Linked DNA regions of Homo sapiens: all the other regions are linked to region 3. Evidence: promoter capture Hi-C in human tissues and cell types (Jung and others, 2019). All regions are on one chromosome and are shown on one strand. The core of a region is centred on a gene start or on the middle of the fragment in contact, and the rest is flanking DNA. Distances in the headings are between cores, read along the strand shown. Region 1 overlaps TOM1L2 (target of myb1 like 2 membrane trafficking protein). Region 2 holds the start of NT5M (5',3'-nucleotidase, mitochondrial). Region 3 holds the start of PEMT (phosphatidylethanolamine N-methyltransferase).

Region 1 (3,560 bases), core at 513-3,012, 260 kb after region 3:
ATCACCCAGACATGAAACCTAGGGACAGGAGGCATGTGGGTCCTCACTGGGGGGATGGACGCACAAATGACTGACAGATGTGTTAACAATGCCTAAGGCTGGCACTTCCTTGCCCTTGCCCATCAAAAGGCAGTAGGGTACACTGCTACTCTGTGCTTGCTGGCAGGCCTTCTGCCTTGAGACATTCCTGGAACAGGACACACCAGTTATCATGCTCTCAATGACTGTAAGTCAGAATGTGTGGCCTCTGGGAGGACGCATGCCATGCTGAGTCCCCAAAACTGAAGCTTAGAAAGTCAGCAGCATCTCCAGAGAGAAAATAGTCCCACACTAGCGGTTAGAGTGTGCACCAGCCCTTTCTTTACACCTGACCAGCTTTTGTCCACTTAGCAGAAACAGACTAGATGTCCTGAGCTTTCCAATGTGTTGCAAAAGCTACAACAAAGACATTAAGGGGTCAGGGGCCTTAAACCTTCAGATTTTTCTTGTAATTGTTTTGTTGCTGCTAAAGAACAAATCCCTTGAGGCCTGGGGTCATACTTTAATTTTCTTCTTTGGGGATAAATCTTGAGAGCCAACATGCTCAGAAAATAAACAATGACACTTAAGAAATTCCTCACCTCCTCAAAAATAACTTCCCAAAAGCTGGCTCATGGGAACCCTTTTCTTCCATGTCCTAGATTTTTCCAAATAAGTAGTATGTTTATGGAATGGCATCCTCCAGACCAAGCCCTAGAGGGCACGCTGAGGAGAGTGCACTGGGTGGGGTCCATCTGGGCCCTCACACTCACTGGTGGCAGGACCTGGGGTGAGTCGCTCCTCTCTGGACCCCACTTTCTTCACCGGAGAGCTCCTGAGTTTCTTCTATCCTAAGAAGCCTTAGAGATTTGGGTGGAGAGGCAGGAGCAGGGGACAGAGGCCTGAGCAATGCTTGGCCTCAATTTCCTCATCTGTGAAATAAGGCGATTGCTAGATTGTATTTGGCTTTCAATTCTTATGACTCAGAAACCTTAACTTTCAGGTTGGTGCTTCTGTTTTCTAATTCAGAAACCCAGGGATGTCAGAAATTATGGAAACTGACTCATTACAATATAGAAGCCACTTGGCCTCAGGGCGTGAACCATGGTGGAGCAGGGTGATGGTTAACAGTTAAGCTTATATAACGTAAGCTTAAATTGACTTTCTTGTGGCCAGACACAAAACCTTAGCTATCTAAACCTCTTGTCCTGGTAAATAAATGCCTTGAGTATTATAACAGGGCAAAGTTCCTTCTAATAATGTAGGTGCTATCAGACTCAGACTAAACATGTACACTGCTTGGAAAATATGAACCAAAGAAACTGTGGGAGGCCGAGGACGCGCTCCTTGTCAGGCTGATGGGAGGGAAGTGGGGCCCTGGTTGGAGCAGGGGGCACTGCGCTGAGTCTTAGGGGACTCTGTTTCTTCCCTGCAGCTTTGGGCAAGACACCAGGCCCTTAGGAGGCCTCGGTATCCTCATCTGTCAGACTAGGGGCTGGCCCAGCAGATTCCTAAGAAGGCTGTTGGCTCTGATGTGTCATAGTTTTATTTTTATTTTTATTTATTTATTTAGTTATTTATTTAATTAATTAATTTATTTAGAGACAGAGTCTTGCTCTGTTGCCCAGGCTGGTGTGCAGTGGTGCGATCTCAGCTCACTGCGACCTCTGCTTCCCAGGTTCAGATAATCCTTGTGCCTCAGCCTCCTGAGTAGCTGGGATTACAGGCGTGAGCCACCACACCTGCCTAATTTTTTTTTTTTTTGTATTTTTAGTAGAGACAGGGTTTTGCCATGTTGGCCAGGCTGATCTCAAACTCCTGGCCTCAAATGATCTGCCCAGCTTGGCCTCCCAAAGTGCTGGGATTACAGATGTGAGCCACTGCACCCAGCCTGACATGCCATAGTTTCAGCATTTTCTTGGGCAATGATCCAAGCTGAAGGCTGGTCTGAGGGATCTGAAGAAGCGTATGAGTTGGAAGAGAGGGACAGAAAGGAAGAAGACATGTGAAGAGAGAAAAGGAAGGAAGCTAGCAGAGGAATGCCCTCCAATAGAGACTGCTGCCTGAAGCTCAGCCCCTCTGAAGATAGGTAGGCCAGGCTGGCTTGGCTGAGGCAGTGGTTAGACCAGCCCTGCCCATTTTCAAAGTCCACAGACATCTTGGATGTCAGAAGCCACAGGTTTTGATCTGAGTGGCAGGTGAGCCATCCTGCTGTCAGCTGATTCTCACTTGGAACTGCAGGCAGGGGCAGCTCTGCCTCAGGGATCAGGAGGGAGGGTTGCCTGCCCAAGGGGGAGAGGCATGTCTGTCTGGTACTCCAGGGGTTAGGATTATCCTTCCAGAGTAAGAGCCTTGGGGGCCTCCAGGTCTGAGGAGGGAGTCCCGCCCTCCAAACCCAAGCCTGGGTTTTGGCAGCAGCATTCTTTACTAACCTACCTCTGTTCTTGTTTTGACTTAGATTCTCTCACATGAGGATATTTTCCTGGCTGCACCCTGCAAAAGGGAGACACCCCTAGCTGATCACCAGCCAAGAGAGGCAAAAAGACCTCACACTAGAGAGGCCAGGGAGGGAGAGCACAAGCCTAGCAGTCTCCCTGAGAGCCGCCCGGCCCTAGCCCATTGACAAGTCTCATTTCTCTTCAACCAGTAATAAGCCTGGTGGTGTCAGTTAACTTCTGTGTTGGCTATCCACACACCTGAGTCCCAGGAGCATAAGGGTTCCAACAGATGCTCCTCTGCAGCTTCCCACAGCCCCATGCCCACAAGGAAACCCACCTGTCCAGTTTTCAATGTAACAAGAACAATTTCTGTAGCTCAGGTGTACTATTTCCAGAGAAGCTGTGAATCCCTTCCTATGTCACTTCAAGCACCACCCCACTGGGACCAAGTCTAAAAGCCTTTGATCTCACTCAATAGTACAAAAAGTTTCCAAGTAAAGAATTTGTACTCAGGAGGCTTGAAAAGACTCAAGGTTTCTACACTATGGGAAATAAGGCAAAGCAATTAATATTTGTTGTAAAGAAAAAAAAAAAAACAAACTGCAGTCAGTCAGGCAAGACACCAGGTTAGCTGTTAGTTAGGTTTGTTTCTGGGAAGTTAGAGACTGGAGCTCTACGTGGGACCTGGCAGTGGCGAGGCAGTCTGTGTGGGCAGAGACAGGCACCACCACCAGCTGCCAAGGCCACCCTCAGGGGAGTTTGTGTGGGCAGTATCCTTTTTTGCAGGATTAATAGGCACAAGGGCATGTGGGCTGGATCTTCCCAATGAATGGACATGGTTTCCAGAAGCCCTGCTGCAAAGGCCCCTGACATGTGGGCCAGAGGCCAGCCTGTCCCTGAAGAAGCAAATGAGAGGCCTGGGCCAGCACATCTCTCTAAGAATGGGCTTGGGGTCTAGTGGAGGAACTGCCTTCTCACGCAGAGCAGCAGTATGCTGCTACTATGAGAGGTGGCAGGAGACCTGCCCAGGCTGACAGCAGAGCTGTGCAGAGGGCACCAGCCCAAGCTGGGTGGCAGGCAGATGCCCCTTGCTCCCACGGCTCT
Region 2 (3,812 bases), core at 729-3,228, 290 kb before region 3:
ACCAATCAGCACTCACTTCTTCCCCTCTGAGGTCCATAAAAAACCCTGGACTCAGCCAGACTCAAAGAGAGGACGGGTAGATGGGGAGAAAACCAGCTGCAGAGAGGAACTACCCTTTCTGCTGAGAGCTGGACACTTGTTGGGATGAACTGCCTACCAGAGAGGAGCTACCCTCTCTGCTGAAAGCTGAACACTTGTGGGGAAACCCTGGCTATGGAGAGGAGCTGCCCACTGCAGGTCTCTTCTGAAGTATTCTGTTGCTCAATAAAGCTCCTCTTCGTCTTGCTCACTCTCCACTTGTCTGCCTACCCCATTCTTCCTGGATGCAGGACAAGAACTCGGGACCTGCCAAATGGTGGGGCTAAAAGAGCTGTAACACAGGCTGGGTGCAGTGGCTCACGCCTTTAATCCCAGCACTTTGGGAGGCCGAGGGGGGTGGGGCGGATCACCTGAGGTCAGGAGTTTGAGGCCAGCCTGGCCAACATGGTGAAACCCTGTCTCTACTAAAAATACAAAAATCGGCCGGGTGCGGTGGCTCACACCTGTAACCCCGGCACTTTGGGAGGCCGAGGCGGGCAGATCACAAGGTCAGGAGTTGGAGATCAGCCTGGCTAACATAGTGAAACCCTGTCTCTACTAAAAATGCAAAAAAGCTGGGTGTGGTGGTGGGCGCCTGTAATCCCAGCCACTTGGGAGGCTGAGGCAGGGGAATCGCTTGAACCTGGGAGGTGGAGGTTGCAGTGAGCCGAGATCCTGCCACTGCACTCCAGCCTGGGCAACAAGAGCAAGACTCCCTATCAAGAAAAAAAAAAAAAAAAGGGAGAGAATGTGGTACATATATACCATAGAATACTTCACAGTCATAAAAAAAGAATAAGATCATGTCTTTTGCAGCCATATGGATGGAGCTGGAGACAATTATCCTAAGCAAACACAGGAACAGAAAATTAAATACCTCATGCTCTCACTTAAAAGCGGGAACTAAACATTAAGTAAACATGGACGTAATGATGGGGACAACAGACACGGTGACCTACTTGAGGGTGGAGAGTGGGAGGAGGGTGAGGATGGAAAAACTACCTATCAGGAACTACGCTTATTACCTGGGTAATAATAATCTGTACACTAAACCCCCAAGACAGTCAATTTATATAACAAATCTGCACATGTATCCCTGTACTTAAAAGTTGAAAAGAGGCCGGGCGCGGTGGCTCACGCCTGTAATCCCAGCACTTTGGGAGGCTGAGGTGGGAGGATCGTTTGAGCCCAACATAGGAAGACTCCTGTCTCAAAAAAAAAAAAAAAAAAAAAAAAATTACCAGGGTGTGGTGGCAGGCCCCTGTGGTCCCAGCTACTCAGGAGGCAGAAGCAGGACGATCCCTTGGGCCCAGAAACTCAAGGCTGCAGGGAACCGAGATCATGCCACTGCTTCCACCCTGGGTAACAGAGCAAGACCCCGTCTCCAAAAAAAAAAAAAAAAAAAAGCAATACAGGGGTACTTAATATTTATTCATATATTTACCTGAGAATCATCAGTTTTACTAAGGCTGTATGATGTTAGCAGATATTGGTTCTATCAGTCTCTCCGCAGACATTTGCTGTAAATAAAGCAGAGAGGCTTTCAGAGTGCACCCTGTTTTTGTTCCTCCATCCTGTTGTCTGGATCCCCTTCTAAAACGTAAGTTCCAGGATGGCAGGAACTTTGTCTATTTGGTTCACACTCGACACAGTTAGTGCTCAAAAATGTCTAACGACACAGGCCTGCTTCTCGGTTTGCACTGCTCCTCCATGGTAGTCTGTGCAGTGGGAGAAGGCAGCCCGGGCCCAGGGTCCACGGAGAAGACGCAAATCGACAGCGCGGGAGCGCGGACCTTCTGGAGGCGCGCGGCGCTTACCGCTGTCCGTCCTCGAAGCCCCGCCCCGGGGCTCCGCCTCCGCCGGCGCGTGTTCCTTTAGGGACCGCGCGCGCCGCGGCCTCGCTCTGGGGCCGGTACTTGCGCGCCCGCACCCCGCGCTCCCCGCCCCGCTCCCCGTCCCGCGCTCCACGCGCGCCCCAGCGTTGGGGGCTTCTCCTCCGCGGCGGGAATGTCTGGCCGGCTCCGGCAGCACGGCGCGGCCCAGGTCCCCGCGCCCACGACGGGCCAGCGCGCTGGGCCATGATCCGGCTGGGCGGCTGGTGTGCGCGGCGGCTCTGCAGCGCGGCGGTTCCCGCGGGGCGGCGCGGGGCGGCGGGCGGGCTGGGCCTGGCGGGAGGCCGCGCCCTACGGGTGCTGGTGGACATGGACGGCGTGCTGGCTGACTTCGAGGGCGGATTCCTCAGGAAGTTCCGCGCGCGCTTTCCCGACCAGCCCTTCATCGCGCTGGAGGACCGGCGCGGCTTCTGGGTGTCGGAGCAGTACGGCCGCCTGCGGCCAGGGCTGAGCGTGAGCGTCCCCGCCCCGCCCCGCGCCGGGCCTCCTTCTCGCCCCGAGCCCCAGACACCGCCCCTGCGCCGGTGACCTTGGACGGTCAGCGCCCCAGCCTCGGGGTGGCCCTCTGATAGAATAGGGTCTGGGGGGGACTAGGGGCCACAGCGCACCGGGAAGATGCGGCCCCGCGCTCAGGATCTGTTGGCTGCCATCCAAGGTTTCTGAAAATGCGGGAGAGTACAAAGTGTTAATATACCTAACTCTGCATTTAAAGCTGACTTCAAAATTTGTGGCATATTTGGCCTCAAGTCGTTTGTTAAATTTTTAGAAAAATAAACGTTATAAGTTGTCCTCTTTCACCCCGACCGCAGTCACATTCCCACTTCTTTGTCCCCAGGACTTTGATGGGTGTCTTTACCCATCTTTTTTACTGTTGTCCATGAAAGCATAGCTTCCAGGGGTATTTGAGGCCCAGAGAGGTTGTGTGACTTTCTGGGGGTCACACAGTGAGTCAGTGGTCCAGGTGAGGTGGGATCCACCTCATGTCTTATCCCCTTGCAGAGCTGGCCTTGCTGAACACCTGAGCTCAACCCCTACCATCCGACTCCCGAGGTGTTCTGTCCAGGATGGATAGAGGGGAAAGATCCAAGGAGGGACGTTTACACACAGATCTTGGTTGGTAAATTTGAAGTATTTTGCAAAAGGAACAGGGGATTTTGGTATGCACAAAATTAAAGAGGCTGAGTGTTTTTTGGCATCCCTTGATTGGCCACCTAGGGTTGCTGCTGGAGGGTTTGATAAAGAGGAGAAGGAAGTTACAAGAGCCCGTTTTTTAGCCACAAGTTCACTGCATCCTCTCTTTTGTTGGGTAGATATTATTATCTCTGTTTTCCAGATGAGGAAACTTGCCCCAAGTCACATGCTGCTCAGGGGCTCAGTCAGGACTCAAACCCAAGTCTGTCTGCCTCCCAAGCACAGTTAGTGCTCCCCACTCCACAGTCCTGTTCTCTGTACTACTGTCTCTAACAAGTGACATTTCTTCTGACATCAGAAAGATGCCTCATCAGTAATGTGGTTTGTTGAGGGACAGGTGTTAAAAAAGGAAACCAAGTACCGTTTGTCTCCATCAACACCAGGCACTTCAGAAGGTGACTTTCACAGAGCCCAGTGTGCTGAGCTCTTCTACAGCGGATGCCTAATGATAAACTTTAAACTGGAGAAAATGCCCTGGTACTTTCTGCAGCCTCAGGAATAGGCTCCAGTGTGTGGCGAGTGTTCATTTATAGGCAGCGCTCGGCATGGGGAGTCTGGACACCATATATCCGCCCGGGAGTGTATTAACGTGGAAACCAAGCCCACCCCCAACTCCGAAAAGTGCAGCAGCTTTTCCAGTTCTTTGTGCAA
Region 3 (3,537 bases), core at 958-3,457:
TTGCTATTTTCCATTTCTTCTCACTAATTTAACATGGCTACTAGAAAGGTTTAAATTATGCATGTGGCACACGATGTTTCTACTGGACAGCACAGCAGCACAGGGCTAGCACCGGAGATCCTGCAGCTCAGACGCCCATGGGGTGAACAAAAACCTTGCAACTCTCCCAGGCCAGGGACTGACATATTTTAAAACCGGAGATTTTGATTGAGGAGGGAGTAGAGCTACCACATAAGCAAATATGTAATGTTGTATGTTGTATGTTTCTTTCTTTCTTTCTTTAAGAAAAATCCCTTGGCAACAGGAAGCTTAACTGCACCAACAAGGACAGCAGAAGAAAAGCAGAATGTTAGTCAACAAGGGTCACCCTGACCCGAACCCCAGCCCCAGCTCTCTCCAGCTGCACAGCCCTGGGGAGAAAGGAGAAAGAGCAGAGAAGCCCACCCCTCACACACCCGGTTAGTCTCCCCTGCCCACTGGCAGGCCCTGGGGCAGGCCCCTAGATGGGTCTGCAAAGGGACACTGCCCCCTTGCATTCTGCCCCCCCTTCTACATGGCTCCCCCACCCACCCTTCTACACGGTGGCTTCTGAGGGCAGCCCCTGGAGGTGATCATGACCCCCCATCTTGATCTGAGGATTAACAGATACAGGTTCACCTGGTGAAAATGCAGGAGCTGTAGGGGTAGGACCCATCACTCATCTGACTGCATGTTGTAATTCAATGGACAGTTTACTAAAGTAATAGTCTTCTTCCTGTCCTCTGCTGAGCACCCATCTGGCCAACGGTCCTGCGCTCCCTCAGGGCCAGCGGCCCATCTCCTCCTGTGCCTCCTGGAGGGCTTCGCAACTGCCTCCCTCCTCTGGGGAATCTTGCCCCACTGACTGACCTTTCGGCTCTCAGATCCCAGGTCCCTCCCTCGCAGATACGGCAACAGGCTCTCTTGGGATTTCAATCCCGCCTTCCCATCAGCTACTCTTCAAAACACTAACTGGTATTAGCTCCTTCAGAGAACTCTCTGGCTTTCCAGGCCTACAATCTCCCTCCCTAGAATGAAAGCTCAGTGACAGAAGTGCCCTTAAACTTCTGAGTGACACGAGGCCCTCAGCCGGCCCTGAATCAATACTGGCTGGATCAGTGAGTGAATAAATGCACATGTGAGTAAGGAATGAAGGGAGCGAAAGAACTGGATTAGAAGCTGCTTGGGGCAGAGATGTGCCTTACAGGCTTCATGAAGAGTGGGTGATGAAAAAGGTAAATGGAGCATCTAAGAGGAAGCTTTGATAGAAGGGAGAATGCAAGAGAGGTTGGAAATTGGAATCCATTGGAATTGGGAGCCTGGGGAGATGCCAGGACAGGCACTCTCTGGCCTAGGACTCTGCAGAGGGCAGCCTCAGCAGGCAAGCCAGGCCCCCAGCTTCTGGGGCCGGTCGCACCCATTATGGCCCCGAAACGGCTGGGTGGTGGTCTGCAGCCTGCCCAGGGCCGGCTGGGAGACAGGCAGGGTCCCCACCACTCTCTTGCCTCTGGGCAAAAGCTGGCCTCCTGACCCTGGGGGATGGACGGGAGCAGGGGCCACACAACACACTCCCAAACATATAATCGGCCTCCTTCACCCTCGCCCACGCTCAGTCACACACAGCCTCGGTCATACACACTCACACTCACTCTCCGGCACACTCTCAGAGCATCACATAATTTCAGTGAGACACAATCCCAAAGACTAACACGGACAACCTCTGAGTCTCACACAATCTCAGGGCCACACACAGGCACACAATCAGACGAGCTCAGGAACGCCCCCGTCTCTGACACACGCAATCTGAGGTTTACACGCGCGCGCACACGCACACACACAGACACCAGCCGGCGCTCCCGCACGCGGCTCCCCCACCCCCGCCACGCCACGCCCCCATTGCCTGGGAACTGGCGGCCCCGCCCCGCAGCGTTTGAGGCGCCGCAAGCCTTCACGCCCCTCGGGCCTTGCAGATCCCTCTCCCAGTTTCCGCGGCGGTCCGGTGCGGTCAGTACCTGTCTAAAATCAATATTGCCGAGGCCTCCGCAGCAGTCAGGCCCTGCCACCGAGCTGTTCGTTACCTCGGCTCCCGGGTTCCCAGATCTCTTCATCCGGGGGCCGCCTCAGGAGGCACCACGCGGGCCCCGCTGCAGCCACGCGCCCCCGGAACCGGACCTATAGAGCCGGGTAAGTGCCGCCAGTCGGGGCGCTTTCCCGGTGACCCCCAACATATTCCGGCCTTCTGGGAAATGTAGTTCCCCGTCACCGCGAAGTGCCTCTTTATCTGGGGGCTCGCGACAGCGTCTAGAGGAGCCGAGAACTACAAGTCCCAGTGTGTTTCGCCGCAGAGCCTGCCGGTTCCGCTGCAGCTACGTAGCAGTATCCCCTTGGATCCGGCCTCCCGCCCAGTGCCTTTGGTCGCCGGCTGCCGCACCCGAGCCTGTAACTGACCTGGCGTCCCTGCCCTTGCCTGGCGGCGGTGGGGCTAGAGGCCGGGGGCCGCGGGTCGTAGCTATAAGCAGCTTCCCGCGCAGCCTCCTGCGGACTTGGACTTGGCCCGGGTCACACACGCCCAGGGCCCCACACGCCCAGGGCCCCACGCCCTCTTCTGAAATTCGCTTTACTCTGGGGGCGGTGCGCGACGAGCACTGCCTAGAGCTTCCCGCCCCCGCGGCGCCCAGGCTCTTTAGCTCGGCCAAAGACCCCTCCTCCACTCATTTTTTCCTTCATTCATTCTCTCATTCACTCTCGAGTATTTTCTGAACCAGACTGTGCGCTGAGGGTACGGTAGGGAACAACACAGAGTCCCCCGCCCTCGCTTCCTCCTGACTGAGATAAAAGACAAAATGTGAATAAAGGGTTATAATATGGATGAGTACTGTGGTGGAAAAAACGGGGTGGGTCAAATGGTACGGAAGGATGCTGTCTTAGAATGTGCAGGGGAGGTGCCAGATGTGCCAAGTGTGAGGGCAGGGCAAACAAGGCAAGACGAATGGTATGTACAAAGGCCTGGAGACAGGACGGGCACCTAAGGAACAGAGAAAAGACCGGTGAGCTGTGGAGTAGTGATGGAGGGGGTCAAATGGAGAAGAGTTTAGACGATCGGGTCCCAGAAGAACCCCTTTTGTAGGCCGGGTGTGGTGGCTCATGCCTGTAATCCCAGCACTTTGGGAGGCCGAGGTGGGCGGATCACCAGAGGTCGGCAGTTCGAGACCAGCGTGACTAACACGGTGAAACCCCGTCTCTATTAAAAATACAAAAAATAGCCGGGTGTGGTGCGCGCACCTGTAATCCCAGCTACTCAGGAGGCTGAGGCAGGAGAATCGCTTGAACCCAGGAGGTGGAGGTTGCAGTGAGCGGAGATGGTGCCATTGCATGCCAGCCTGCGCGACAGAGCGAGACTCCCTCTCAAAAAAGAAAAAAGCCCTTTTGTAGCCAGGTGTTATGTAATATGGGGAAATAGACTGAGAGGTTCCAAGATTTGCTCAGTCACCCAGACTGCTGGGGGCCCAGACAGGACTT

Evidence for each region. The method cuts DNA at HindIII sites, captures the fragments that hold promoters and counts their contacts. A contact is called where the count stands out against the background at its distance.
Region 1: a contact is called between a fragment that was not itself captured here and the fragment with the promoter of PEMT in region 3, in 5 of the 25 tissues and cell types used here (IMR-90 fibroblasts, dorsolateral prefrontal cortex, hippocampus and 2 more).
Region 2: the fragment with the promoter of NT5M here is called in contact with the fragment with the promoter of PEMT in region 3 in 3 of the 25 tissues and cell types used here (IMR-90 fibroblasts, dorsolateral prefrontal cortex and mesendoderm cells).

Annotation. Positions count from the first base shown.
Region 1 is chr17:17,852,924-17,856,483 of GRCh38, forward strand. All of the region lies in intron 12 of TOM1L2 (target of myb1 like 2 membrane trafficking protein), which reads right to left. Among named protein-coding and RNA genes, the nearest start is that of SREBF1, 18 kb to the left of the region's middle. The HindIII fragment of the contact is 7,112 bases long and covers 1-3,560 here.
Region 2 is chr17:17,301,395-17,305,206 of GRCh38, forward strand. NT5M (5',3'-nucleotidase, mitochondrial) reads left to right here and starts at 1,979. Exons shown (of 5, transcript NM_020201.4): 1 at 1,979-2,423. The coding sequence starts at 2,157. RefSeq lists silencers at 1,909-2,078, 2,129-2,228, 2,359-2,548. The HindIII fragment of the contact is 23,347 bases long and covers 1-3,812 here.
Region 3 is chr17:17,589,501-17,593,037 of GRCh38, forward strand. PEMT (phosphatidylethanolamine N-methyltransferase) reads right to left here and starts at 2,208. Exons shown (of 7, transcript NM_148172.3): 1 at 2,031-2,208. The coding sequence starts at 2,126. RefSeq lists enhancers at 1,653-2,394, 1,960-2,349. The HindIII fragment of the contact is 9,919 bases long and covers 793-3,537 here.